7 separate regions of the Homo sapiens genome follow, and all the other regions are linked to region 4. Evidence: promoter capture Hi-C in 16 types of primary human blood cells and fetal thymus (Javierre and others, 2016). All regions are on one chromosome and are shown on one strand. The core of a region is centred on a gene start or on the middle of the fragment in contact, and the rest is flanking DNA. Distances in the headings are between cores, read along the strand shown. Region 1 overlaps TRERF1 (transcriptional regulating factor 1). Region 2 overlaps GUCA1ANB-GUCA1A (GUCA1ANB-GUCA1A readthrough). Region 3 overlaps TAF8 (TATA-box binding protein associated factor 8). Region 4 holds the start of FRS3 (fibroblast growth factor receptor substrate 3). Region 5 has its middle 6.0 kb from the start of GUCA1B. Region 6 overlaps C6orf132 (chromosome 6 open reading frame 132). Region 7 has its middle 46 kb from the start of C6orf132.

The links. The method cuts DNA at HindIII sites, captures the fragments that hold promoters and counts their contacts. A CHiCAGO score of 5 or more calls a contact.
Region 1: a contact is called between a fragment that was not itself captured here and the fragment with the promoter of FRS3 in region 4, in 1 of 17 cell types (total B cells). The highest score is 5.1, in total B cells.
Region 2: a fragment that was not itself captured here is called in contact with the fragment with the promoter of FRS3 in region 4 in 15 of 17 cell types (total CD8 T cells, naive CD8 T cells, naive CD4 T cells and 12 more); the score reaches 18.4 in total CD8 T cells.
Region 3: a fragment that was not itself captured here is called in contact with the fragment with the promoter of FRS3 in region 4 in 9 of 17 cell types (erythroblasts, megakaryocytes, total CD8 T cells and 6 more); the score reaches 8.8 in erythroblasts.
Region 5: a contact is called between a fragment that was not itself captured here and the fragment with the promoter of FRS3 in region 4, in 10 of 17 cell types (naive CD4 T cells, endothelial precursors, naive CD8 T cells and 7 more). The highest score is 9.0, in naive CD4 T cells.
Region 6: a contact is called between a fragment that was not itself captured here and the fragment with the promoter of FRS3 in region 4, in 1 of 17 cell types (erythroblasts). The highest score is 5.1, in erythroblasts.
Region 7: a contact is called between a fragment that was not itself captured here and the fragment with the promoter of FRS3 in region 4, in 1 of 17 cell types (total CD8 T cells). The highest score is 5.2, in total CD8 T cells.

What each region holds. Positions count from the first base shown.
Region 1 is chr6:42,230,620-42,234,495 of GRCh38, forward strand. It overlaps TRERF1 (transcriptional regulating factor 1), which reads right to left. Exons shown (of 18, transcript NM_001395490.1): 17 at 2,062-2,309. It overlaps LOC105375061 (a long non-coding RNA gene), which reads left to right. Exons shown (of 4, transcript XR_001744122.2): 2 at 3,741-3,876. Among named protein-coding and RNA genes, the nearest start is that of MRPS10, 15 kb to the left of the region's middle. The HindIII fragment of the contact is 7,864 bases long and covers 1-3,876 here.
Region 2 is chr6:42,169,505-42,173,186 of GRCh38, forward strand. The region is part of intron 1 of GUCA1ANB-GUCA1A (GUCA1ANB-GUCA1A readthrough); the gene reads left to right. Among named protein-coding and RNA genes, the nearest start is that of GUCA1A, 2.0 kb to the right of the region's middle. The HindIII fragment of the contact is 1,549 bases long and covers 1,027-2,575 here.
Region 3 is chr6:42,078,933-42,082,666 of GRCh38, forward strand. TAF8 (TATA-box binding protein associated factor 8) reads left to right here. Exons shown (of 9, transcript NM_138572.3): 9 at 1-3,734. Among named protein-coding and RNA genes, the nearest start is that of TAF8, 30 kb to the left of the region's middle. The HindIII fragment of the contact is 1,421 bases long and covers 562-1,982 here.
Region 4 is chr6:41,778,501-41,782,529 of GRCh38, forward strand. FRS3 (fibroblast growth factor receptor substrate 3) reads right to left here and starts at 1,400. Exons shown (of 7, transcript NM_006653.5): 1 at 1,316-1,400. It overlaps PRICKLE4 (prickle planar cell polarity protein 4), which reads left to right and starts at 2,282. Exons shown (of 8, transcript NM_013397.6): 1 at 2,282-2,326; 2 at 2,850-3,020. RefSeq lists silencers at 1,126-1,275, 1,306-1,715, 1,996-2,065. The HindIII fragment of the contact is 6,259 bases long and covers 288-4,029 here.
Region 5 is chr6:42,199,163-42,202,689 of GRCh38, forward strand. No RefSeq gene overlaps it. Among named protein-coding and RNA genes, the nearest start is that of GUCA1B, 6.0 kb to the left of the region's middle. RefSeq lists a cis regulatory region at 108-794. The HindIII fragment of the contact is 4,638 bases long and covers 1-3,527 here.
Region 6 is chr6:42,131,376-42,135,286 of GRCh38, forward strand. All of the region lies in intron 1 of C6orf132 (chromosome 6 open reading frame 132), which reads right to left. Among named protein-coding and RNA genes, the nearest start is that of C6orf132, 9.3 kb to the right of the region's middle. The HindIII fragment of the contact is 7,031 bases long and covers 1-3,911 here.
Region 7 is chr6:42,095,057-42,098,697 of GRCh38, forward strand. No RefSeq gene overlaps it. Among named protein-coding and RNA genes, the nearest start is that of C6orf132, 46 kb to the right of the region's middle. The HindIII fragment of the contact is 4,276 bases long and covers 1-3,448 here.

The sequences.
Region 1 (3,876 bases), core at 64-2,563, 450 kb after region 4:
AAAAAGCCTTAAGATCAATCCAGGGGCCCATTTCTTCCATGGTGCACCAGTGTGTGGTGGGTGGTGATGTTAAAATGACATCATGGCCAGCTTGGAAGGACAGCAGGGTGTGGAGGAGACCCACACCGAATCCCATCTCTCCCATCCCTGTGCTTCATGGGGGGAAGTGATCTGCTAGTTCCAGTTCACTTTGGTGGGTGCCATCAAGCTGGGCTTAATCAGACGCAGCATGGCATAGAGCCAGGAGCACAAGGCCAGGCCAGCCTGCATGGTGTGAATCCCCACTAGGCTGCTCGCTGTGAACTGCAACAGGGGCTTCACTTTTCTGTGCCTCAGTTTCTGCCTGTAAAAAAGAAGCTCCTAAAAGTACCTGCCTCATAGGGCTATTTTAAAGATTAATCAGTACATGTGCTATGGGTTGAATGTGTCCCCCAAACAGCACATGTTGAAAACTGAATCCCTAATGCAGCTATGTTGGAAGGTGTGGCCTAATGGGAGGTGTTTCAGTGACGAGGGCCTCACCCTCATGAATGGATTCATGCCGATTATAATAGGGTATGAGGCTGCAAGTTCAACCTCTTGCTCTCTCTCCCCTCTCTTTGCCCTTCCACAATGGGATGACTTAGCAAGAAGGCCCTTGCCAGATGCAGGCCCCTTGACCTTGAACTTCCCAGCCTCCAGAACTATAAGAAATAAATTTATTTTCTTTATAAATTATCCAGTCAGTGATATTCTGTTGTAGCAACACAAAACAGACTAAAACATGTAAAGAATCCTTTAAAACAGTGCCAGGCACATAGTTAGTACCTGATAAACAGCAGTTACTATTAAGTTGCCTGCTCTACTCTATGAGGATGTATAAGTAGAGGTCCCACCTAGCCTTGCTGATGTAACTAGGGATGTTTTCGTGGTAGAGTTTCAGAAACCACTTGGGCAGCATCTCTCCCAGGTAATACTCCTTTTCATGCTCGAGGCACTAGGAATTATGGGAAGAGGAACTCAGCAAGGCTCCTAAAGGATGTAATTCATAACAATGTAGTACCCTTCCAGTCAGGTGGACTCATTGAGAAGTACACTGGAATTCTCTACTGGAGGCTGTGGGAGGGAATCACCCATCTTACCATCAATGGCATTTTCTACCTAAAGCAAAAAACAAAGTAAACCAAAAGGAAAGAGCAGTGGTCAGAAGCCCAGGTCTGCATTCGGACAAAACTGGGTTCAAATCTCAGTTCTGCTCTTTACTGGCACTGTGATTTAGGTCAAGTCATTTTACCTAATTTTTAAACCCTTATTTGTAAAACAAAGATAAAAAAACAGTATCTGTATCACATGGAGTTTCTATGTAAGGATTAAGTGAGCTCACACACATAAAGCATGTAACAAAGTAAATGCTCAGTAAATGTTAGCTATTATAATTACTATCTCGTTACTTTTTTTCTTTAGCTGTTGTTGTTTTTTAAATTATACCTAAAAGGGGAGGATAACAAATAGGTTTTATTTCATGTGTCAACTCTGATTAATTGGTTGTGCAGCTTGAAGCATGACAACAAAAAGTAATTGAGGCTTTGTCTTAAAGTGATAGCAAAGTGTGGTGATTGATTAGTGATGTCTGCCTTAGTCACAGAAGTAAGCGAAGGTGGTAGGATTACCCTGTATGAGCCATCTGTGTTACAGAGAGTTCCTGATTAGATGTTGTAGAGCCATTCTCAAATCATTCAGCGGGGATCCAAACAGAGTAATGCTAGTGAACATAGCTTGGGTGTGAAGGGAAGGAGTGGGAACCAGAGTCCCACCTGCCATTCCTGGGAAAGAGTGAAGTTTTGTAACTTACAGGTTCACTCTCTGAAGATATCCATCCTTACAAGGCTCTAAGATAACAGAATGGCCATATTCTGAGTCTGCAACAGGACTACATACCCATCCCAAAGATGACACGAAGAAGAGTTTTGAGGTCTAAGTTCTTTTTTCTGATTGAAGAAACCTCAGGCCATCCTGGCCCAGCTCCCATAGAGCGACTACCCATCATGAACTCAGATTCAGTCCCCGGTCCCCTGCACCTACTTGCCACACTCCTTGCAGGGGAAGATGGTGGTGGGGTCTGTCTCGCCGCTGGTGGTGCTGTGAGAGGGTGAGCTCTTTACCGAACAGTACCCACTCTGGGTGCCACCAGGCTTCTGCTTCCCAGAGGGGATGGCACCTCGGGCCTTGGTCACCTGGTTGGTGCCCCCGTGGATGCGGGCATGGCCATTCAGTGCCTGTCGGGAGCTGAACACCTGGGGAAGAAAGGGAGTGACATGACATCTACAGTCCTGAAAAGGAAATTAGGGTTATTAGTTACTCAGTGGTAAACATGGAATACTTGAAACTGTCTAATGACAGGGCACAAGGGTTTTATATAAGCAAACTTTGGGCATATGCTACAAAAGGTAAAGATCAAATACCACAACCACAGATCCTGTGCCAATCAAAACCTCATCACTGCTACAATCAGAAGAGAAGAAGCGACGTGGCACAGGATAAAGAATAAAGCTACTGTCTAGAAGTCAAGACGTCAGGGGTTTGGACCCAGCTCTACTATAACTAAAGCTGTTGGGCCATTTCCCTTCTGTATACTTTATTTTTTTCCATCTGAGGAATGAGAGGGCTGGACCAGCTTTCAAACTTTTTTTTTTTTTTTTTTTTTTGAGACAGAGTCTCGCTCTGTCACCCAGGCTGGAGTGTGGTGGTGCGGTCTCAGCTCACTGCAAGCTCCGCCTCCCAGGTTCACACCATTCTCCTGCCTCAGCCTCCCGAGTAGCTGGGACTACAGGCGCCCGCCACCACGCCTGGCTAATTTTTTGTAGTTTTAGTAGAGACAGGGTTTCACCGTGTTAGCCAGGATGGTCTCGATCTCCTGACCTTGTGATCTGCCCGCCTTGGCCTCCCAAAGTGCTGGGATTACAGGCGTGAGCCACCACGCCTGGCCTCAAACTTTTTTAAAGATGATAACTACCTCCTTCTTTTCCTCCCATTTTTCTTCCTTCCTTCCTCTTTCCCTCCCTCCTTCCTTTTTAGGAAATCAGGTCTTACTAAAAAAACTCAGGCTCAAGTTAAAAGCAGAGGTGCTCTGGCTAGAATGGAGACAGTGCCCCAGAATTGCGCCTGTTTGCTCAGCTCTATCTACCCCGAGGAAGCCCTAGCACCCTAAGGAATCCAGTTTGAAAGACAGTGATTAGGTTTTCTGACGTATTCTACGTTGTAGATAGCCTTAATCAGTAGCCCATTGTTGAAGCAATGTTTAAGACCCCCAAATTTTAATACAGATGATAAAAAGAAGAAGGATCTTGGCAGAATTTTAAAATCCTGCCATAAAGCTGGGTTTTCTTAACATCAGCACTACTATCATTTTGGGCTGGATAATTCTTTGTTGTGATGGGTGGGGGGCTCTGTTGTATAGGATGTTTAGCAGCATCTCTGGCCCTACCAGATGCTAGCAGCACCTCCGCATTTATGATAAAAGTTATGATAAATTCCAGACACTGCCAAATGTTCTTGGGGAATAAATCATCCCCAGTTCAGAACCACCGCTATAAAGGGGTGTAAATCCATATCCCTGAATCCAATGAGTCCTGGCTTCCAGCTTGTTAAACTCATCAGCTAAGGGGAGTACCTACTGGGCTGTCTAGCTGTAGTAGTTGCTGTATTAAGTTTATGATCTCTGTTTTTTTTGTTTGTTTGTTTGCTTGTTTTTTTTTTTTCAGATGGAGTCTCACTCTGTCACCAGGCTGGAGTGCAGTGGCATGATCTCAGTTTACCGCAACCTCTGCCTCCTGGGTTTAAGCGATTCTCCTGCCTTAGCCTCCCAAGTAGCTGGGACTACAGGCGCGCACCACCACG
Region 2 (3,682 bases), core at 551-3,050, 390 kb after region 4:
GAGCCTCCAGATGAAAATACAGCCCAGGTGACACCCTGAGAGCAGCCTTGTGAGACGCTAGGCAGAGGACCAGCTAAGCTGTGCCTGGACTCCTGGCCCATAGAAACTGTGAGATAATAAATGTGTGGCCAGGCACGGTGGCTCATGCCTGTAATCGCAGCACTTTGGGAGGCTGAGGCAGGTGGATCACCTGAGGTCGGGAGTTTGAGACCACCCTGACCAACATGGAGAAACCCTGTCTCTACTAAAAATACAAAATTAGTGGGGCATGGCGGCACATGCCTGTAATCCCAGCTACTCAGGAGGCTGAGGCAGGAGAATTGCTTGAACCTGGGAGGCAGGAGGTTGTGCTGAGCCGAGATCGCATCATTGTACTCTAGCCTGGGCAACAAGAGTGAAACTCCATCTCAAAATAATAATAATAATAATAATAATAATAATAATAATAATAATAATAAATGTGTGTAGTTTTAAAACTGCTGACTTTGTGGTTATTTGTTATGCAACATAGAAAACTAATATAACACACACATTAGCCAGAGTTCTTCAGAGAGACAGAGCTAATAGGATTATATATAGAGGTATGAGAGAAGATTTATTAGGGGGATTGGCTCACATGTTTATGGAGGCTGAGAAGTCCCACAATATGCCATCTGCAAGATGGAGAACCAGGGAAGCCAGTAGCATGGCTCAGTTCAAGCCCAAAGGGTTCAGAGCCAAGGAAACTGATGGTGTAACTCTGGGTCTGAAGCTGAAGGACTGAGAACGTGAGAGTGGGGAGGGGTTGCTACTGGTGCAAGTCCTGGAGTCCAAGGGCAGGAGAAGAAGAGTGTCCCAGCTCCAGGACAGAGAGAGAGAGAGAGAGGGAGAGAATTCACCTTTCCCCTGCCTTTTTCTTCTGTCCAGGCCTAAGCCAATTGGATGGTGCCCACCCACATAGGCTGAAGGCAGATTCTCCTTACTTAGTCCATGAATTCAAATGCCAGTCTCTTTGGCAAGCACCCTCACAGAAACACCCAGAAATAAAGCTTTACCAGCTTGTTGGGTAATCCCTTCATCCAGTCCTAAAATTAACTGTCACAACACATAAGCAAAATGTCAGTATGCTGTGGGAGGAAGATATTTGAGAGAGATTTGGGAAGGCTTCACAGAGGAGGTGGCATTTGTACTCACACATGAAGAGTGAGAGGGATTTAAATAGAAAGGGAAAGATGAGCGGCTGCCTTGTCCCCAACCTCTTCATTTCCCAATCTTGGGCCTGAGAGTCCTCGGCAAGGACACATTTTCCAGCTGGGCCCCAAGCAAGTTCACAGAAGGAGTCCTTCTCTCCCCGTCCCTTAACTTGTTGTGGAGAAGCTGACTGAAGCAGGGAGAACCCAGCTCCCCACCCCCATATACCTTCCGTCAATCAATTCATGTGGAGTAGAGGTAAAACAGTCCCAGTTTGTCTCTTTTTCAAAAATAACTATCCTCTTTGATTTTGTGAGCAACATATGTTCATTATGAACAATTTTTTTTTTTTTTTTTGAGATGGAGTCTCTCTCTGTCGCCCAGGCTGGAGTGCAATGGCGTAGTCTCGGCTCACTGCAAACTCCGCCTCCCAGGTTGAAGTGATTCTCCTGCCTCGGCCTCCCAAGTAGCTGGAATTACAGGCGCCCACCACCATGCCTGGCTAATTTTTGTATTTTTAGTACAGATGGGGTTTTACCATGTTGGCCAGGCTGGTCTCGAACTCCTGACCTTGTGATCCACCCGCCTCAGCCTCCCAAAGTGCCGGGATTACAGGCGTGAGCCTGGATCTGGTAAGGCTTTAACAAAGGCCTCCACCTTCCCTAGGGCCTGACTACAGCTGGTAGGTGGCCTGTGTGAGGCAGGTTGGATGTCTGTTCCTACACATAGCCCTTCTGGCCGTCCAGGGCCCAGAGTGAATGGGGCTAAAGGGACAAGAGCACGATTGGCTCTAACCCAGGGATGCTGCTGTGTCCAAGATGCAGTATAAGTGCACCTAGATTGTAGTGAACAGCACATCAGACATGCTGCTGTAATAGATACAAAATCATAACATCATAGCCAAGATTTATGGGGCACTTACTCTGGGGCAGACCTTGTTCTAAATGCTTTTCTTATATTAACTCACATACTCTTTTTTTTTTTTTTTTTTGAGATAGGGTCTCGCTTTGTCATTCAGGCTGGAGTGCAGTGGTGCGATCTTGGCTCACTGCAACCTCCGCCTCCTGGGTTCAAGCGATTCTCCTGCCTCAGCCTCCCGAGTAGCTGGGATTACAGGAGTGTGCACCATCACGCCTGGCTAATTTATGTATTTTTAATAGAGATGAGGTTTCACCATGTTGGCCAGGCTGGTCTCGTACTCCTGGCCTCAAGTGATCCACCCGCCTCGGCCTCCCAAAATGTTGGGATTACAGGTGTGAGCCACCGTGCCCAGCCCCACTTACTCCCCTTAACAGCCCTATCAGATGGGCGCCATTATTCCTATTTTAAGAATGAGGAAACTGGGGCCCAGAGAGGTTAAGTTACTTGCTCAAGGTCACCCAGCCAGTAATGTAAGCAAGAAACAAGCTTGTATTGTTTTCAGCCACTGAGATTTTAGAGTGGTTTGTTACTGTAGCATAACCTAGCCCATTCTGAAATATGTATGCACATGTATTTGATATATGTTATATGTTGTATAAATTGTATATTTATATAAATCTATTTACATGTAATTATATATTATTTATATAAATCATATAAATTGTGTATCAGTGCACAACTTGACCAAGTGTCCAAGGCCCTGGTGGGGAAAGCAGAAATATGGGCAGTGGTTCCCTCTAGATGAGTTAGGAGACCTGGGTGTGCCCCATATGTAAAGGAGGAAGGCAAACAAGAGAAAAAGACAGGGCAGGGCAAGCGCTGGCTTTAAGCTTTCCTGGCAGCATCCAGGTTAAGTGCACCTGCACCCAAATGCTGGTTCCATAAATGAGCCAGCTTTTAAGTGTGTGGCTAGGGAGTACGCATCCCACCAGGCATCAGAGAAAGCTGTTGCTGCATAGACAGGCCCCCAGGCTTGGCCTGGGAGCTTTCCAGGACCAGCAGGTAGCAGCTCACCCATGCACCTGTGTGCCTGCACTCTCACACTCACACATACCCCAGGGCACCAGGCGCACACTCCATGTCCCCTGCCCTGTGCCCCTAGTAGGTGATGGTGATGATGTGAGGCTCAGAATTAGATGGAAGGATGAATTCAGGGCTCTCAAGAAGGGAGAGATGCAACCTTCAGGAACATGAGAGTGTGGCCAGAACAGGATGAGTGTGTACGAGTGTGTGTATGTGTGTGCACGTCTCTGTGTACTGGTGCAGGCTAATGTAGGAGGGGGTTCTCTCTGGCTGTTCAAGGCTTATCTTGGAAGCCCACAGACTCTGCATCCACCCAGGTGCCCTCAAATGTTAGCACACTCATGGTATGATTGGACCCCCTCAGTTGTGATGGCCAAGTGCAGTGCACAGCCTGGATAACTGTACACAGCAGCCCTGTCAAGAGCCCACAGTTGGCCATCTCTGGACAAGAAGCCAGCTCTATCTCATATATACCTCAATTCCATGATTGAAGGCAGAATCCAAAACCACTGTGAATCCACTCAAACCAGGAGAAGAAGGTCACAAAGGTCATAGGATCAGAGCAGCT
Region 3 (3,734 bases), core at 22-2,521, 300 kb after region 4:
CCAACATAGTGAAACCCCGTCTCTACTAAAAATACAAAAATTAGCCGGGTGTGGTTACTCATGCCTGTAATCCCAGCTACTCGGGAGGCTGAGGCAGGAGAATCACTTGAACCTGGGAGGCGGAGGTTGCAGTGAGCCGAGATCGTGCCACTGCACTCCAGCCTGGGTGACAGAGCGAGACTCCATTTCAAAAAAATAAAAAAAGGATAAAGTAAACAATAGGAAAGGATTTGGTGGGGTGAGGGTGGGGTGTTGAGGGCTGGGCCTCATCTTGTATTCTGAAAGCTGAGAAACGGCTGGTCAGCTGGAAGGCTGGTGGATGGGCAGGAGTGAGCCAAGCTGAGGCGTTCTGCAAGAAGCAGGTCTGAGTCTGTCCAACCAATTTGTATCCTGTGGGGAGAACAACTTCATTCTTAACATACCCTACAAACCAGAAAACAAGTTTTTAAGGAAGATGCTGGGCATGCTGATAGCTTTTCTGGTCTCCTAAGGAAGAGTTTTTAAAACTAAATCCAAGGAAGAAAAATGTAACAACACGTGGAAGTGAACACTGGATGAATAAGCTTGTTTCCCAAATTAGAATCCTAACGTCCATATTTAGCTTCATGTATTCCCCTTTGGCTTCCACAGTTCAACTCCTTTTATTTTGAGACAGGGTCTCGCTGTGTCGCCCCAGCTGGAGTATAGTGGCACTACCTCGGCTCACTGCAACCTCCACTCCCCGGGTTCAAGCAATTCTCAGAGTAGCTGGGATTACAGATGCCCGCCACCACATCTGGCTAATTTTTTTTTTTTTTTTTTAGTAGACACGGGATTTTGCTATGTTGCCCAGGCTGGTCTTGAACTCCTGGCCTCAAGTGATCCACCCGCCTTGGCCTTCCAAAGTGTTGAGATTACAGGCGTGAGCCACGGTGCCCAGCCCATCTCTTAGTCTTCCATTCCCTTGGTGAATTTGGAAACTTGAAAAACTTGGGGACTTGACAGCAGGCTCCATGTTCTTCTGGCCTCACTGTACTGTGTAAGGAAAGAGCTGCTTGTCAGGAACGGAAGAGGGGACGCTAGTAAAAAAAAAAAAATTGGATTCCCCAACTGGACTAAATAGGAGTTTTTCAGGTTTGTAGTAACGTGAAACTCTCCTAGATCGAAGCAGTTAGACTGGCCTATGTGGCCTTCTCAGGGTTTGTGATTCAGTTCTTAGCGATTCTTGGCCTGATAAGTTTATGAACACAGCCCCACATTCAAGCCGTGGCCAATCCCAGCTGTTCTCACTGCTCTTGGGAGGTGTTGTCCCAGTCAGTGTTTCTGCAGCTTCCATTTGTTGTTGTTATCCAGTGTAAGCACCTGTTGAATGCAGATGTGCTGAGTTAGAGGTGGGATTTGGAAAAGGGCTGCTATTTCTGCTGTTGAGATTTCAGAGGCTATACTCTTTTTTTTTCTTTTCTTTTTTTTTTTTTTTTGAGACGGCATCTCACTCTTATCGCCCAGGCTGGAGTGCAATGGCGTGATCTCGGCTCACTGCAACCTCCACCTCCTGGGTTCAAGGGATTCTCCTGCCTCAGCCTCCTGAGTAGCTGGGATTACAGGCACCTACCACAATTCTCGGCTAATTTTTTTTGTATTTTTGGTAGAGACGGGGTTTCACCAGGTTGGCCAGGGTGGTCTCGAACACCTGACCTCAGATGATCCACCCACCTCGGCCTCCCAGTGTGGGTGGGATTACAGGCATGAGCCACCGCGCCTGGCCTCAGAGGCTATACTCTTATAATTTTGTTCTGAGGGGAGACAGGGAAAGGGTTAGACAACTTGAAACATTGACCCTGTATAAAAATGCAAAATTCTCAATGTGTATTTATAAATTTCTATTTTTTATAACTTTATGGGACTTCTTAGAGGCCAAAAGTAGTAAACATGCAGATTAAAAATGTTTATGAAAATCTCAATAAAAATTCATAATAAAAACTTTGTAAATAAATAGAACTGTAAGCTTTGAACTTAATTTGTGTTCAAAAGTTAACAGCAATGTGGACAAATAAGTCAGGCTTAGCCCTTGTGTTGGCCTAAGCACACCTGGGAACTTAGTAAAACTTTTATTTTGGAAATTTTCAAATACAAAATTAGAGAGCAAAATATATGAACCCCTGTATATGCCTCATCAAGCTTCCACACTTGTCAGTAGCTTGTTGATTCTGTTTCATCTGTTTCTCCCACTTTTTGTCCTTTATTTTCTTTCCTCCTGGAGTGTGTGTGTGTGTGTGTGTGCGTGTGTGTGCGTGTGAGACAGAGTTTCGCGCTGGAGTGCAATGGTGCAATCTTGGCCCACTGCAACTTCTGCCTCCCGGGTTCAAATGATTCTACTGCCTCAGCTTCCTGAGTAGCTGGGATTATAGGTATCTACCACCACCACCACGCCTGGCTAATTTTTTCTTTTTTTTTTGGAGACGGAGTCTCGCTCTGTCGCCCAGGCTGGATTGCAGTGGATTGTCAAGATTGCAGTGGTGCAATCTCAGCTCACCGCAAGCTCCGCCACCCAGGTTCACGCCATTCTCCTGCCTCAGCCTCCCAAGTAGCTGGGACTACAGGTGCCTGCTACCACGCCCAGCTAATTTTTTGTATTTTTCAGTAGAGATGGAGTTTCACTGCATTAGCCAGGATGGTCTCGATCTCCTGACCTCATGATCCGCCCGCCTCGGCCTCCCAAAGTGCTGGGATTACAGGCATGAGCCACCGCACCTGGCCTAATTTTTTTGTAGGTTTAGTAGAGATGGGGTTTCACCATGTTGGCCAGACTGGTCTCCAACTCCTGACCTCAGGTGATCACCTGCCTCAGCCTCCTAAAGTGCTGAGGTTACAGGCGTGAGCCCCCGCGCCTGGCTCTTCTGGAGTATTTTTAAATGCAAACTCCAGACCTGTGTCATTTAATCTAAATGTGTCTATACGTATCTCTGATTGATCTTTCTTTAAATTTTAATTTTGGAATAATTATAGATTCACAAGATGTTGCAAAAAATGTTGAGAGAGATCCTATGTACCCATCACCCACTTTCTCCCAGTGGTAGCATCTTGCATAACTGTGGTGCAATATCAAAACCCTTGCATTCAGTTTCAGTGTACAATGTAGATGGTATATTAGTACAATGCATAGAGCTTATTTAGTTTTCACCATGTGCACGTGTGTGTTATGTGTGTGTTGTTCCGTGCAGTTTCATCGTGTAGATTTGTGTAACCACCAGCACACAAATGGTGAAGACACAGAACCATTGCATCAGTACAGTTCTCCCTCATGCTGTCTCTTTGCAATCACATCCACCTCTCTGCTCTTCCACTTCTCTCCTGGCAGCCACTACTCTGTTCTCTATCTCTAATGTTATTGAAAGAATGTTATAAATTGAATCATAAAGTATGTGACTTTTTTCTTTTTGAGACAGAGTCTTGCTCTATCGCCTAGGCTGGATGGAGTGCAGTGGAGCGATCCCAGCTCACTGCAACTCCTCCACCTCCCGGGTTCAAGAGATTCTCCTGCCTCAGCCTCCCAAGTAGCTGGGATTACAGGCATGTGCCACCACACCCAGCTAACTTTTGTATTTTTAGTAGAGATGGGGTTTCACCATGTTGGCCAGGTTGGTCTCCAACTCCTGACCTCAAGTGATCCGCCCACCTCAGCCTCCCAAAGTGCTAGGATTATAGGTATGACCCACCGCACCTGGCCGAGTATGGGACTTTTTGACGTTGGCTTT
Region 4 (4,029 bases), core at 150-2,649:
CTCTACAAAGAGCTTTCTCAAAAGGACACTGTGATATAGTAGAGACAGCACTGGTTTAAGACTCAGGAAACCAATATATCGGTCAGTTTTGTTGCTACTAAGTATCTGGGAGACTTAAGTCAACGCCCCCCCCAACTCCCACCTAAGGCCTTAGTTTTTGGGGGAACCATCTATAAACTGGGGAGCTTCTAGCTTAAATAACTTGCAGAGGTAAAAACGTAAGACAAACTTCACTAAAATTGACATGTTCATCTTCCAAGACAGGCTGCTTCAATTTCGCATTTGGAAGCTTGATAGATTTTCTGCTCCCCAAGCTCTGAAAGGCCTAATTTTAACATAAATGTTAACAGTAAGCCAAAATTTCAGGATATCTGAGCCCAAGGTAGACAAGTCAACAAGCCAGGACTCTGCAGACCCTGGACATCCCACATTCCTGCTCTGGAGAAACACTTCCCAGGGCCCCTTGCACCCTGCATCCTTGGACAACTTCCAGGTAAAAGGACCCCATCCCCTTGGTCTGGCTTATTTTCTGGAAGGAAGAAGCAGGCTCAGGGAGGTGTGCACAGACTAAAGATAGGTTGCTGGGAAAATACTGGGGCTTGAGCCACCGACGGGGGCACGGCGCGGGCACTGAAACGAAGAACTCTAGGGTGCAAGATGGGGGAGGGGCTGAATTTCCCTATCACCATCTCTTCTCCTTAAGATATCAGGATGTATCAGATAGCCCACTGAGGAGGGACTGCATTGAGTGGAAATGGGGAGAGGCCTCTGGTCTGGGATAGGTATGGATCAGGGGCAGGAGTGAGAGGGGGGTGTGGGGGCTGAAAACGTATGAGGACGTTTGGGGAAACATGAGCAAGAATTTTGGATGTGGGCATTTTGGATAGTGCAAGGAGAATGGGGATATGAGGGATCCTAGGAATTTCCGGGCAGTGGAAGCATTTGGGGGCATCCAAGAGAAATGGTGGGTCCGTGGGCATAGCAGGAGATTTGTTGAGTGAATGAGGGGGTTCTGAGGGCTCCAGGAGATGCGATGATGTGTCCAGGGCGGAGAGGGTAGAGGTGGGTTGGGGGAGCCAGAGGCTGCAGGACAGGCTACAGGACTGTCAAGGGGAATTTCTACATGCCCGTAAGGAATGAGGAGGTCTGGGTGCGCGCTGTCCCCGGATCCCCGCCCCCAGCCCCGGTGCTCCGCCGCCTGCCCGCCCGCCCGGGGCTTCCTAGGGAGGGAGTGGAGACTGCGGCGCGGCGCGGCGCGGCGCGGCGCGGCCTCGGTGAAGCCGCCTCGTCCCCGCCCCGCCGCGCCCCGACTCACATCGCCCCGCGGCCCGGGCGGCGCCGGGCCCCGCTCCCGGGTCCCGCTGCAGCAGCCGCCGCCCGCCCGGAGCTAAGGCCTCCCCGCCCCGCCCCGCCCCGCGGCCGCGGGGTCGGAGGTCACCGGCAGCACCAACGAGACGCTGCGGGCTGGCGGACCCGAGCGGGGGCGACCGGCACGCAGCCTAGAAGGTCCCTTTGGAGGACTTTGCAGTCGGGAGCAGTGAGCATGCGCAGACGCCAGAGGGCGCTCCTGGCCAGGGGCTGAGCAAGCCCGGAGGGGACAGGGCGGAGCCTGCGGCGGAGGCGGGGCGCGGAGGCGGGGCTGAGGACACCAAAGTTGGGGGTGGTCCGGGGAGCGGAAAGGGGACGGAGGGTTGGGCGAGAAACGAAGGGAAGGGGAGAGGGTCTGAAGGGACCTGAAAGGAGAAGGGCAAGACGATGGAACCTGGAAGAGGGTTGAGGGGAGGGGAAGGGGCCAGGGGGACCACTGGGGACAAGGGGGAGAGAACTGAAGGGAAACACGCGGAGGAGCGGGGCTGGGAGACCACAGGGAGAGTTTGGGGAGACCTGGGAACTGCGGAGAGACAGGGCTGCGGGCCCGGCGAGGCGTTTCCATTCAGCGAATGGTTGAAAACCCAGCGTAAACGCGGCTCCCGGCGTCTGCTGGATGCCTGCCGGGCGCAGTCCGAGCCAGAGAGCCCTTGCACCTGCATGGCAGAGGCCATGGAGCCCGCACATTTCCACCCTGAGATCCCATAAATGTGGTTTTGTTTTCCTTTTTTTTTTCCTCCCCCCAATCTGCAGCTCCAGGCCCCTCCCTGAGCCGCCCCTCTCCACCAGCCGGGGAGGGGCGGGCGGGGGCCGCTGGGGCGTGGGAGAGGAAGGGCCGCGCTATTAGGGCGGGCGGGGGCGGACGGGGGCGGGCGCTGAAGCCTTGGGGTGGGGACCGGGTGAGGGGCCTGACGGCAGAGTCGGTCCAGAACTGCCCGGACAGCGACGCACAGCGAGGGTGAGACCCCAGCGGAGTCCTGGTCCCCTCCCCTAAAATCCCAGCAGCCAGACCGGGAACCCCAGCGGACTCGGGAAACACCGCGTCCCAGCCCCGGAGGCGGGCCCGCCAAGTTCCAGAAAAACTCTGGGGATCTATCGAGAGGGCAGTTGGCGGGACTGGGCACTCCCCTTCCTTCTCCCTCCCACTGTCCCCAGAAATCTTCCCATCCCTCCACCTCCCCAAGCCCTAAGTCCTCTCGGGCTCTGCCCTTCAGGGCAGCGGGTGTTGGGGATGTCCAGCTCCTGAGCCCTCTTGCACGGAGGCTCTGCACGGAGGCAAGACAAGGGGTTCAGCTCTGTCCCTTATCTGAGGTGGGAGGGGGAAGGGAATTATGGAAGGAATCCAGCTGGCCTGTTAGTAAGGGTGTTCCAGTGCTAGGTGGAGGTGGAGTTTGGCTGCCTTTGGGGAGATTGGAAGGGTGAGGAATAGAGGCCTGATTTCTGAGTGTTGTTTCTGTGTTGGACAATTCTATGCAAACTAGAGCCAAAATGGAAGAGGGTGCAAGTCCCCTCCTGGGGCCCCAGACGCCCCCTCCTTTCTTGCTGCCTGGAGCAGGGGCAGTGCTGTTAGTGGCTACTCCTGGTGTGAACAGCCCATCCTGGCCACCTTCCACAGGAAACCTGACCTGAAGGACAGAAGAGGAAGGAAGCAGGTGGGTGTGAAGCCAGGAAGGAGGGAAGGGTGGCACAGGACATTTGAAGTGGGAGTGGAGGGGCGGTGCTGAGGAGGGTTCAGTGCTGGGAAGCAATATTAACTGTTACAGTCCAAACCCTCACCTCAACCCCAGTACGAATCCCTGGCCCAGTCTTAGAGGCCAGGGATTTGATGATGACCCTCCTGTGCCCAGCTACTTTCAGAATCTATCCCAGCTCTCAGAAGCCAGGTCCCCCTAAGGCTTCCCTTAGCCTCTGGTATGATCTTGGGCAAGTTAATTAACTTGTTTCAACTGTCAAGTGGAATGAAAGAGATTACCTCATAAGATTATTGTGAGGATGGACTATATTATGTAATATTCTAGAAGAGTCCTTGGCACAGAGTAAATATTATTAAAAAGTTTGCTCTGGTTATTTTTTTCTCCAGGGTTTTTGTATGTCTGTCCCGAGCTCTGATTGATCCCATTCTACCTGGTTTCATCTTTGTCTTACCCACTATGAGCTCCTTGAGGGCGGGGCTCATCTCTTCTCTACATTAATAGTCGCTTTTTTTTTTTTTTTTTTGAGACGGAGTCTCACTCTGTTGCCCAGGCTGGAGTGCAGTGGCATGATCTCAGCTCACTGCCACCTCTGCCTTCCAGGTAGGTTGGAGCGATTCTCCTGCCTCAGCCTCTGGAGTAGCTGGGATTACAGGCACACATTACCACGCCCAGCTTATTTTTGTATTTGTAGTAGAGATGGGGTTTCCCCATGTTGGCCAGGATGGTCTCGAACCACTGACCTCAGGTGATCTGCCTGCCTCAGCCTCCCAAAGTGCTGGGATTACAGGCATAAGCCACTGTGCCCAGCCAATGGTCACTTCTTCTTTTTTTTTTTTTTTTTTTTTGAGACGGAGTCTTGCTCTGTCGCCCAGGCTGGAGTGCAGTGGCGCGATCTTGGCTCACTGCAAGCTCCACCTCCCGGGTTCACACCATTCTCCTGCCTCAGCCTCCGGAGTAGCTGGGACTA
Region 5 (3,527 bases), core at 261-2,760, 420 kb after region 4:
AGACAAGGTCTCACTATGTTTCCCAGTCTTGAACTCCTGGGTTCAAGTGATCCTCTTGCCTTGGCCTCCCAACTGCTGGGATTATAGGCATGAGCCACCACACTTGGCCTTTATTTTGGTTTTAAAAGAAATTTAAAATATTGGGCCCTAGGCACTGTGCCTACTGGGTAAACTGACCTGCCCACATCCCCTGCCCAGCTATTGTCCTAAATTTTGCTCCCCTTACAACAAAGCCCCTTGTGGCAGATGTATCTTCAGAAAATGGCAGGACGATCATTCTGGCTTCACGCATTCCTCCCATCAAAGGGAGGAGTCTATTATCTTTCTCTTCAACCCGGAGGAAACTTTCTGGCTGCCTTGTTGAAGATAACTGCAGAAATGACACAATGTGACTTCCAGGGCTAGGTCATCAAAAGTGATAGGTTTCCACCAGGCTCTCTTTCTCAGAACTTGCCCTTGGAACCCAGCCACCATGTTGTGAGGAAGCCCAGAGCACATGCAGGGGTTCTGGCTGAAAGCCAGTCTCAACCACCAGACATGGGTGAATGAGCCTTCAGATGACTCCAGCCCCAGCTTCTGAGCTACTCCAGCCCCAGCTTCTGAGCTACCCCAGCTAATACCACATGGAGCAGACACTATCCCTGCAGAGTCACTGTTTTAAGCTACTAAGTGTTAAGTGTTTTTTGAGGTAGCAATAGATAACTGGGAAATTCTCAAACCTATTTTGCATCCTCTTTTTAAATCTCTTATTCTTTCCTCAACTTACTCCAACTGGACGTTCATCCCCATCACTCCACAGAAATGGCTTTTATTGTGGTCACCAATGATCTACTTTTTTTTTTTTTTTTTTTTTTTTTTTTTTAACCTAACCTGCCACAGATTCATCACAGTTCACCAAACTAAGTTCTTTCTCCACTCTACATTTCAAGGACCCACACTCCTCTGATTTCACTCCAGCCTCACTCATTGCTCATTTTCTTTGCTAGCACCTCTTGCTTTTAACCAAATCTCTAAAAGCTGGGAGCTTTCCAGGCTTGTCTTTAGTACTCTTCCTTTGTTTACCCACACTTGCTCCCTAGATGATCTCATTCATTCCCATGCCATTACACACCATTTACAGGCTGGCAGGTTCCAAATTTGTATCTTCAGCCTGGACCTCTCCCAGGAACTCCAGATGCATGTATTCAACTGCCTACTGGACATCTATACTCAGATTGCAAACTTAGCAAGGCCAAAACCAAATTACTGATTTCCTTCCCGAGTCCCACCTTATCTCTTCTCCACCTCAGTAATGGCACTGCTATTTACGCTTAGGTGAAAACCCAGGAATTATCCTTGAATGCTCTTTCCTTTAGATTTCACTTCAATCTACTAGTAGGTCATTTCATCAGCTCTTCCTGCAAACTATACTCTAAATCAAACCACTTCTCCTCACCTCCATTCCTGACATTCTCGCCCAGACCAGCATCATCTCACCTGGTCCACCGCAGCAGATCCCTAACTGGTCTCCCTGCCCTCTCGTCACTCCTCTTTCACCCAGCAGCCACAGTAGCATACAGCAGATCCTGCCACTCTCCTGCTCAAACCCTCCTTTAGCTTTCCATTTGCTGAGAATAAAATCCACACTCCTCCCCATGCCTATGATGCATTACACGATCTAGTCCCTGCCTACTTCTGTCTTCATGGTCTTCTACACTGCAAACACACCAAACTCCTTCTAGAATCAGTGTGTCTTTGCATGTATTGTTCCTCCTACTTGGACTGTTTTTCCTCCAGATTTTTTTTTTTTTTAGATGGGAGTCTCGCTCTTGTTGCCCAGGCTGGAGTGCAATGGCACAACCTCGGCTCACTGCAACCTCCGCCTCCCAGGTTCAAGCGATTCTCCTGCCTCAGCCTCCCGAGTAGCTGGGACTATAGGCACCCGCCAGCAAGCCCGGCTAGGTTTTGTGTTTTTAGTAAAGATGGGGTTTCACCGTGTTGGCCAGGCTGGTCTCGAACTCCCGACATCAGGTGATCCACCCATCTCAGCCTCCCAAAGTGCTGGGATTACAGGCATGAGTGACCACACCCAGCTTCTTCCTCCAGATGTTAACACCACTGCCTCCTCCTCAGAGAGAACTTTCCCAACTCCCCCTCAGGTAGCCACTCAAGTAATTCTGATATTATCCCATTTTATTTTCTTCACAGTACTTAATTGCATCTGAAACTATCTTATTTTTTTCTCTACTTGTCTGTCTCTCTCACTAAAGTCTATGATCTTTGAGGAGAGGGACTTCACTATATACATTCCAGAATTCCCAGCGTTTAGAACAGTACTTGGCATGTACAGGAAACTCAAATACTTGTTGAGTAACTGAGCAAGGTCCTTGGCACATGGTCAATGCTGAATTAACGTCAGCTATCACTCCTTCATTTTACAAGACAATTCCTCTTTGACTCTGTTTAGTGTCTAGATTAGCAGGTATTTGTTGAGATAAAAATGATAATGGGATTTTAGAACTGGAAAAGGCCTTGAAGATTATCTAGCCCATTAATTTCCAATTACCCATCTCAACACACTTTAAGATAACACATGCCCATCAGCAGCCGTGGCTCTGTAACAGCAGCATCTCAACTGGCTTGGTGTGAAGGTAGTATTATTCCCATCCATCTCTCTTTTTTTAGACAGGGAGACAGGGTCTTCCTCTGTCACCCAGGCTGGAGTGCAGTGGAACACTCTCGGTTCACTGCAACCTCCATCTTCCGGGTTCAAGCAATTCTTATGTCTCAGCCTCCTAAGCACCTGGAATGCCCAGCTAATTTTTGTATTTTTAGTGGAGGTGGTGTTTTGCCATGTTGGCCAGGCTCCATCCATCTCTTAACACTTATTATTTAAGCAGCATTGAAGATTGATTAAAGTACAGTATCTCTGCCCAAGTTAAGAAATTTTATGAGTGAAATATAACTTGATTTAACCTCTGGCCGAGGAATTTAAAATTCAATTGGTTTTTCATGTGGGTCAGTTGCCCATGACCTGCCCTATAAATAAATGTCGCTGAGCTACTGAGTTATAAATATATCATTTTAAAGAGGATTAGAAATCCAGCCGGGCATGGTGGCTCAAGCCAGTAATCCCAGCGCTTTGGGAGGCTGAGGTGGGCGGATCACTTGAGGTCAGGAGTTTGAGACCAGCCTGGCCAACACACCGAAACCCCATCTCTACTAAAAATACAAAAGTTAGCTGGGCGTGGTGGCGGGTGCCTGTAATCCCAGCTACTCAGGAAGCTGAGGCACGAGAATCGCCTGAACCTGGGAGGCAGAGGTTGCAGTGAGCCGAGATTGTGCCACTGCACTCCAGCCTGGGCGACAGTCAGACCCTGTCTCAAAAAATAAACAAATAAATAAATAAAAATAAAATAAATAAATAAATAGATAAATAAAATAAAGAGGATTAAGAATCCATAGAGAGAAATGAGAGCTTGAAGTGAGTAACAATAGAAAGGATTTAAGGAGGGCAGGGTTAGGAATTGAGCAGGGGATTTGGAAAG
Region 6 (3,911 bases), core at 1,028-3,527, 350 kb after region 4:
TCATTTAATTCTCAAAACAGCCCCATGCAAATTGGTAGTCATTATCCCTGTTTTACAGATGAGGAAACTGAGGCACAAGGAGGTCAAATAACTTGCCCAAAGACTCACAGTAAGTGTTGAAGCCAGGGTCTCCCTAAAGGGCCTGACTTCTAAACTACCATACATACACCCCTAAAGGGAAGAGCCATAATCCCACCATGTACGGGGGTGAGGAAGGCTCGGCTCGGCTCTGGCCAAGGAGCAGCTCTGGGAAGCAACGGGAGGTGAGGCAGCTTGTTCGAAGCCTGCTGGTCAGGATGGAGTCGGATCTGAACTGTGGCCGTCTGACCCCCAAGCAGGCGCTCTAACTGCCTCACAGATCCCATGACTCAGCCCTGACTCTGAGCCATTGTTGTTTTGCTTGCTTTGTGGTTGTTTTAAGCAGTGAAATCCTTTCTAAGAACATAATTGTTCTCTGTAAAACATATAGAAGGGTAGTGGCTGTAGTTGAGGCCGGGTTGGAAGGCCCAGGTGGCTCCTCTCGCTACCAGGCACCTCTGGAAAATCGGATTTGATTTCCCAGTCTGAAGAGGAGTGGGTAGGGGTCAGAGAGGGAAACGTGATACGGGAGCAGAGGTGGGGTGATGCGCTGTGAGAGGCGCTCAGCTGCCATGGCTGGCTTTGAAGATGGAAGGAGGCTACTGGCCAAGGACTGTGGGCTGCCTCTAGCAGCCAGAACAGGCAAGGAAACAGACTCTCCTGGAGCCTCCAGAGGAACAAAGTCTTGCCAACACCTTAATTGAGCCCACAGAGACCTGTGTCAGAGTTCTGACACGCAGAATTGTAAGATAGTAAATTTGTTATCAAAATAAAAAAAGGGGCTGGGTGCGGGGGCTCACACCTGTAATCCCAGCACTTTGGGAGGCCGAGGCGGGCGGATCACAAGGTCAGGAGATCGAGACCATCCTGGCTAACATGGTGAAACCCCGTCTCTACTAAAAATACAAAAAATTTGCTGGGTGTGGTGGCATGCACCTGTAGTCCCAGCTACTCAGGAGGCTGAGGCAGGAGAATCACTTGAACCAGGGAGGCGGAGGTTGCAGTGAGCCAAGATTGCGCCACTGCACTTCAGCCTGGGGGACAGAGTAAGACTTTGTCTCAAAAAATAATAAGAAGAAGAAGAAGAAGAAGAAAATAAGAAAAGGAGGTGTGGGGCTGGGCGCGGTGGCTCACACCTATAATCCCAGCACTTTGGGAGGCCGAGGTGGGTGGATCATGAAGTCAGGAGTTCAAGACCAGCCTGGCCAATATGGTGAAACCCTGTCTCTACTAAAAATACAAAAATTAGCCGGATGTGGTGGTGGGCACCTGTAATCCCAGCTACTCAGGATACTCAGGAGGCTGAGGCAGGAGAACCGCTTAAACCCGGGAAGCAGAGGTTGTAGTGAGCTGAGATTGTGCCAGTACACTCCAGCCTGGGTGACAGAGTGAGACTCTGTCTCAAAAAAAAAAAAGAAAAGAAAAGAAAAGAAAAGAAAAGGAGGTGTGGCTGCAATCAGGCCAACTCTCTGGGCCCCTCAGACCTGGCCTAGCTCCTGCTGGGTGGAGGCACAGCATGAGGTGAGGCGCGTGTGTCTATCTCCATCAGCTAGATCCTCAAAGCATTCAAGGTCAGAACTGGGGTCTTCCCAGCCTCAAGGTCAAGGCCCAAAACTAAACAAAGACAACAGAGCTCAACCTTGGGGAATTTCCTATTGGAAGTGATGAACTTTGCTCAGATCACAGGTCAGGGATGCTGAGGCCTTCCTGAGAAGCAGCTCCCTCCTCAGTCGAGGAGCTAAAGGAGGGCTAGGAACATCCTGGTTTCCCTTGAGGAAGGAGGGGCGAGGAGGAGGTGAAGGGGGTGCCTGGAGAGGAGGCTGGATGATTTGCTCTCGGAACAAGACTGCAGTGAGAAAGAGGGGCACAGCCCCGTGTCTCATCCACTCTGAAACTTGCAAACTCCCTTGGTGTCTGGCTTTTTCTGGAAAAGTCCTTCGGGATCTCAGAGGTTTTATGCTTGCCACATGCATGGACCACAGAGGCAGCATTGGAACATCCAGGTGGGATTCAGAAAGCTGGAAAAGGAAGGGAGATGCCCCTGGACCCAGGAGCTTCCAGAGAAAGAGAGTCCTGGGGCAATTCCAGCAGCCAGGAAGCCTTGTGAGACCCCAGCAGCAGGTTCTGAGCAAGGCCTGAGCCCCAGATGGACCACAGTCCTGTCAAGATACAAACTTCTGACAAACTCACATGCAAATAATGCAGTGATAAAATAGGGGTAAATCCAGGTCTGCCTCCATTGACCCAAACCTGATCTTTAAATGAACCAAATTTCCCCCCAAATGGAATCCTATTTATGACAAGATTATGCATAGGATTACTTTAGAGTTTCTCCCTAACAATTTCTCCCTCATAGAAGGAGACAGGGGCGGGGGCGGGGCGGGGCGGGGCGGGGGAGGTGGATTTACACTCCCTCAAGGATTTGAGTTGACATAAATATTAATACCATCTAACATCCAAAAACCTGTTCCAAAAACAATTCCTGGTGCCAAGCAGGAGACTTCACCCCAGATTTCAACCTGGGTACAGGCAGCTCCCCTCCTGCCCCTTCTCCCTCAGGAGAACCTGGCTCTGCCATGGGCCAGAGGGCAGCAGAGTTGTGGCTGAGGCTGCCTGGGCTGTGAGGAGACCATGGCTGAGGTTCTGCCCTGGCCGGAAACACCCAGTAGTCGAACAGCTCCTGGCTGGGACGGGAGGCAGGACCTTATGGGGTCAAGGCTATGGGTTTAGAGCCCAGCTGAACTTGGGTTCCAGTTCCGGCTCCAACACTTAACTGTGGGATCCTGGGAGCCTCACTGGTCTCTCTGAGGCTGTCTCTTTATCTTTGTACATGTGAACAGTGGTCCCTGCTGGGCAGGCTGATGTGAGGTTGAGTGAGAGAAAGTGTGCAAAAGTCATCAGCACAGTGCCTAGCAGATATTTATGCTCAATAATTGGGAGGGTTGGCTGGGAGTGGTGGCTCACGTCTGTAATCTCTGCATTTTGGGAGGCTGAGGCAGGAGGATTACTTGAGGTCAGGAGCTCAAGATCAGCCTGGCGGCCGGGCACAGTAGCTCACGCCTGTAATCCCAGCACTTTGGGAGGCCAAGGCGGGTGGATCACCTGAGGTCAAGAGTTCAAGACCAGCCTGGCCAACACGGTGAAACCCCGTCTCCACTAAAAATACAAAAATTAGCTGGGCGTGGTGGTGGGTGCCTATAACCCCAGCTACTCGAGAGGCTGAGGCAGGAGAATTGCTTGAACCGGGGAGGCAGAGGTTGCAGTGAGCCGAGATTGAGCCATTGCACTCCAGCCTGGGTGACAAGAGCGAAACTCCATCTCAAAAAAAAAAAAAAAAAGACCAGCCTGGCCAACATGGTGAAACCCCATCTCTACTAAAAATACAAAAATTAGCCAGGCGTGGTGGTGGGCGCCTGTAATCCCAGCTACTCAGGATACTCGGGAGGCTGAGGCAGGAGAATCACTTGAACCTGGGAGGCAGAGGTCGTAGTGAGCTGAGATTGCGCCACTGCACTCCAGCCTGGGCAACAGAGTGAGACTCTGTCTCAAAAAAATAATAATGATAATTGGGAGGGCTGGTTATTGTTGTGATCGTCATTTTCTCTCTGCTCCACCTTACTTCCTTCCACCAAGAGTTTGGGCTGTGAGCTTGAGCTGGGCTGTGTCACTTGCAAATCATGGTGACACCTGTCCCCACTGGGGAGAGCCACCGGGAGGCAGGCGGCCCTTTGGGCCCTTTGCTTTCTTGTTCGGGTTCACTCTGAGTCCTGATGCCTGGGGCTGAATAGCCCTCTTTGCAGCAACCCAGAGTGGGAGAGGCTGGATCAAGGTTG
Region 7 (3,641 bases), core at 61-2,560, 320 kb after region 4:
GCCACCCAAGGAATGACTGTTAGCCTAACAGTGACTCTATGACCACCTCCCAGTACTGCTTACCCCAAGCCTGCCCTCTCTACTTACTGCCCTCTCTGGAACAAAAATTTGGAGAGATGCTGTCACACCCACCCCAGCCACATTGCCCTGGGGGCAAAAGGCAGTGCAGCAGGTGCAGTTTGGCTCCCTAGCACCCTCCAGCTGTGTGGCCTTGGCAAGGTCACTTGGCCTGTGGAGGCTGTAGTTTCTTCTTTGGTAAGCTGGGAGTGGCACTATCTGCCCTAAGGGAGATGAGGTGATGACACATGACACTGCACAGCAGGGGTTCTCAAAGTGCCATCCCTGTACCATCAGGACTTGCAGCCTCATCTGGAAACTTGTTAGAAATGTGAATTCCCAGCCAGGTGTGGTGGCTCACGCTGTAACCCCAGCACTTTGGGAGGCCGAGGTGGGTGGATCACCTGAGGTCAGGAGTTCGAGACCATCCTCACCAACATGATGAAACCCCATTTCTATTAAAAATACAAAAATTAGCCAGGCATGTTGGTGGGTGCCTGTAATCCCAGCTACTCGGGAGGCTGAGGCAGGAGAATTGCTTGAACCCAGGAGACAGAGGTTGCAGTGAACCGAGATCGCACCACTGCACTCCAGCCTGGGAGACAGAGTGAGACTCCATCTCAAAAAACAACAAAAAAAGAAAGACATGTGAATTCCCCAGCCCCATCCCAAACCCACTGAATCAGGAGCTTTGGAACAAGTCCCACACACCTGTGTTTTGACAAGTGCTTCTGATGCACTTCTGAGTTTTGAGAATGACTGGTGTGCCAGACAGCACCTAGCTTTGTGCCTGGATCCTAGGAGAAGCCATGTCAACCTCAGATGGATCTCAGTCTGAACCTGAACCCCACCAGTCACACAAACTTCAGGCACTTGTGAGCAAAGTGCCACCTGTTGGCTAATGCCCACTCCACATGCACACACGGGGATGCCAGGCTAAGACTGCGGTGCTGGACACCAGGGTAAATTACACAGGTGCCTTCTGGCACTCCCCTCTCCTCTCCCTGGAGAATCCAGTTAAAGTGAATGTCAAGGGCAGCTTTAAATGGCCAAGAGAGGTCACCGAAAGACCACAACTCACTCTGTAGGAAAAATAAGCACACAAAGGGCATCCCTCATTCCTCTGCCCAGCTCATGCACGTGCTCCCACAAGGGTCACAGGCCAGCAAGAGAGGACACCCACAAGGACAACCCAACAGTGCCCCATGTGGTCCCGTGCTCTCTTGGGCCACCGGGCTCTCCTGGGTGGAAGAGCTTTGCATTCTCCTGCTCCATAGTCCAGTTATTTGTGTGTACGTCTGTCTTCCACACTCAACTGTGAGCCTCTTGCGAGGTTCCTTGGCTTGTACTGAGTGGCGCCCCCTCGCAGTGTTGAATTGCATTGGTGGAATTCTGTGCTGCCCTTAGCTATTAGAACAAATGCTGGAAAGTTGTGAACCAAAAGGCAGGAAGATGACAGATGGGGTAGCCCAGAGAGAGACAGAGAAAGTAGGAGCCTACCAAACCCTCTTGAATGGCTCAGAAAATAAACTAAGGCAACAATGAAAAGCGGCAGGAGATGCTTCTCTGCAGTGAGGAAAGCTGAAAGGAGTCAGAAGGCTCAGTCTGTAGAAGACAAGACTGAAAATATTCCATTTTCAAGAATGAGAAGGGAGTATAAGTGCGGTGGCTCTTGCCCGTAATCCCAGCACTTTGGGAGGCTGAGGCAGAAGGATTGCTTGAGCCCAAGAGTTCAAGACCAGCCTGGGCAACCTAACGAGACCGTGTCTCTACAAAAAATAAAGACAAAAATTAGGAAGAGCACGGTGGCTCACGCCTGTAATCCCAGCACTTTGGGAGGCCGAGGCGGGTGGATCACAAGGTCAGGAGTTCAAGACCAGCCTGGCCAAGATGGTGAAATCCTGTTTCTACTAAAAATACAAAAATTAGCCAGGTGTGGTGGCGGGCGCCTGTAATCCTAGCTACTCAGGAGGCTGAGGCAGAGAATTGCTTGAACATGGGGGGTGGAGGTTGCAGTGAGCCGATCTCACACCACTGCACTCCAGCCTGGGCGACAAGGCAAGACTCCATCTCAAAAAAAAAAAAAAAATTAGCCAGGCCTGGTGGTGAATGCCTGTAGTCCCAGCTACCAGGAAGGCTGAGGTGGATCACTTGAGCTCTGGAGGCTGTGACCTATGATGGCACTATTGCACTCCAGCCTGGGCGACAGAGCAAGACCCTGCCTCAGGAAAAAAAAAAAAAAGAAAGAAAGAAAGAAAAGAAAATGAGAAGCCAGTGTCCCACTTCTGAGAGTAGCATTAGGGCTAATGATCCTATGCTGAGATGGAAGAGATTCAAAACAGCAAGTCTACTGGGTCCCCACTCTGTGCTTAGACCCCTGCTAGGCCCTCAAAACCTTGTGCAGGGAGCTCACTCCTTAATAAAAACCAAACCTAGAACTGTAAGGCTTTCCTCTTGAAGGTGGGCTCTGCAGGTGGGGAGGGCTGGTGAACAGGTCGGACCTGGCTGGCTTCTGCCACCCTGGCCCCCAGAGGTGCTTTCCTTCTCAATTCTCCCGCCCACATGTAATGGAAACTTTACCCTTGGTCCACAGCTGAGATAGGCTGTGGCACCAAGTAAGTTTGCTGAAGACCAAAGGAGCTCAAAAGGGAAAAAGCAACAGAGTGCAAGTCACTTGGATTGTTGGAGCTGGCCGCCCCTGTGGCTGGCTCACTGGTGGGGTGTAGAGGGCTGCCTGAGATCCTTTGAGGACCAGGACTCCCTCACCTGGTGCCATAACATCCTAGCTCATGTCTCTACTTAGAGGATGCAGTATCTCAGCCCACCAGGCAGGAGCCACTCCAAGGCATCTGGACACCTTTATGATGAGACCTTAGAGACTCATCCCTAAAACTAAACCTTCCCTCAGCCTGATAACCTCAGCATTAGATTAAGTTCCACACTGCAACTTCCACCTCCCAGATTCAAGCAATTCTCCTGCCTCAGCCTCCTGAGTAGCTGGGATTACAGGCGTGTACCACCACGCCTGGCTAATTTTTTTGTATTTTTAGTAGAGACAGGGTTTCACCATGTTGGTCAGGCTGGTCTTGAACTCCTGACCTCGTGATCCATCCCTCTCGACCTTCCCAAAGTGCTGGGATTACAGGTGTCAGCCACCGCGCCCAGCCAAGGAACTTACACAGTGCTTGATGATATTTGATTAAGTACTAACTTGTATTCATCAATAAACTCAATATAGTGAGCACCTGCTGGTGCCAGGAGCAGCACCAGATGCTGGGGATACTGTGATGAGTGAGGCGTCCTTACGTTGTGGAGCTTACAAGTTGCTGGGAGAGAGATGTAGACCAAGTAACACTAGGTGCGGGGAGGGAGAGCAGCAGGGACCGTGGGAAGCTTTGCAGGAGCTGCTGTGGCCTAGCAGGTGAGGGATGTCTGAGCTGAAGCCTGAGGATAAAGAAGAGCCTGCCACAGAAGTGGGAGAGGTAGGTATGGAGGAGGAAGAGGTCTCCGAGCAGAGCAGGGCTGGGGAAGGCTTCCTGTAGGAGCTCCGATCCAAGCTGGACCTTGAGTGTGAGCTGGCCTAG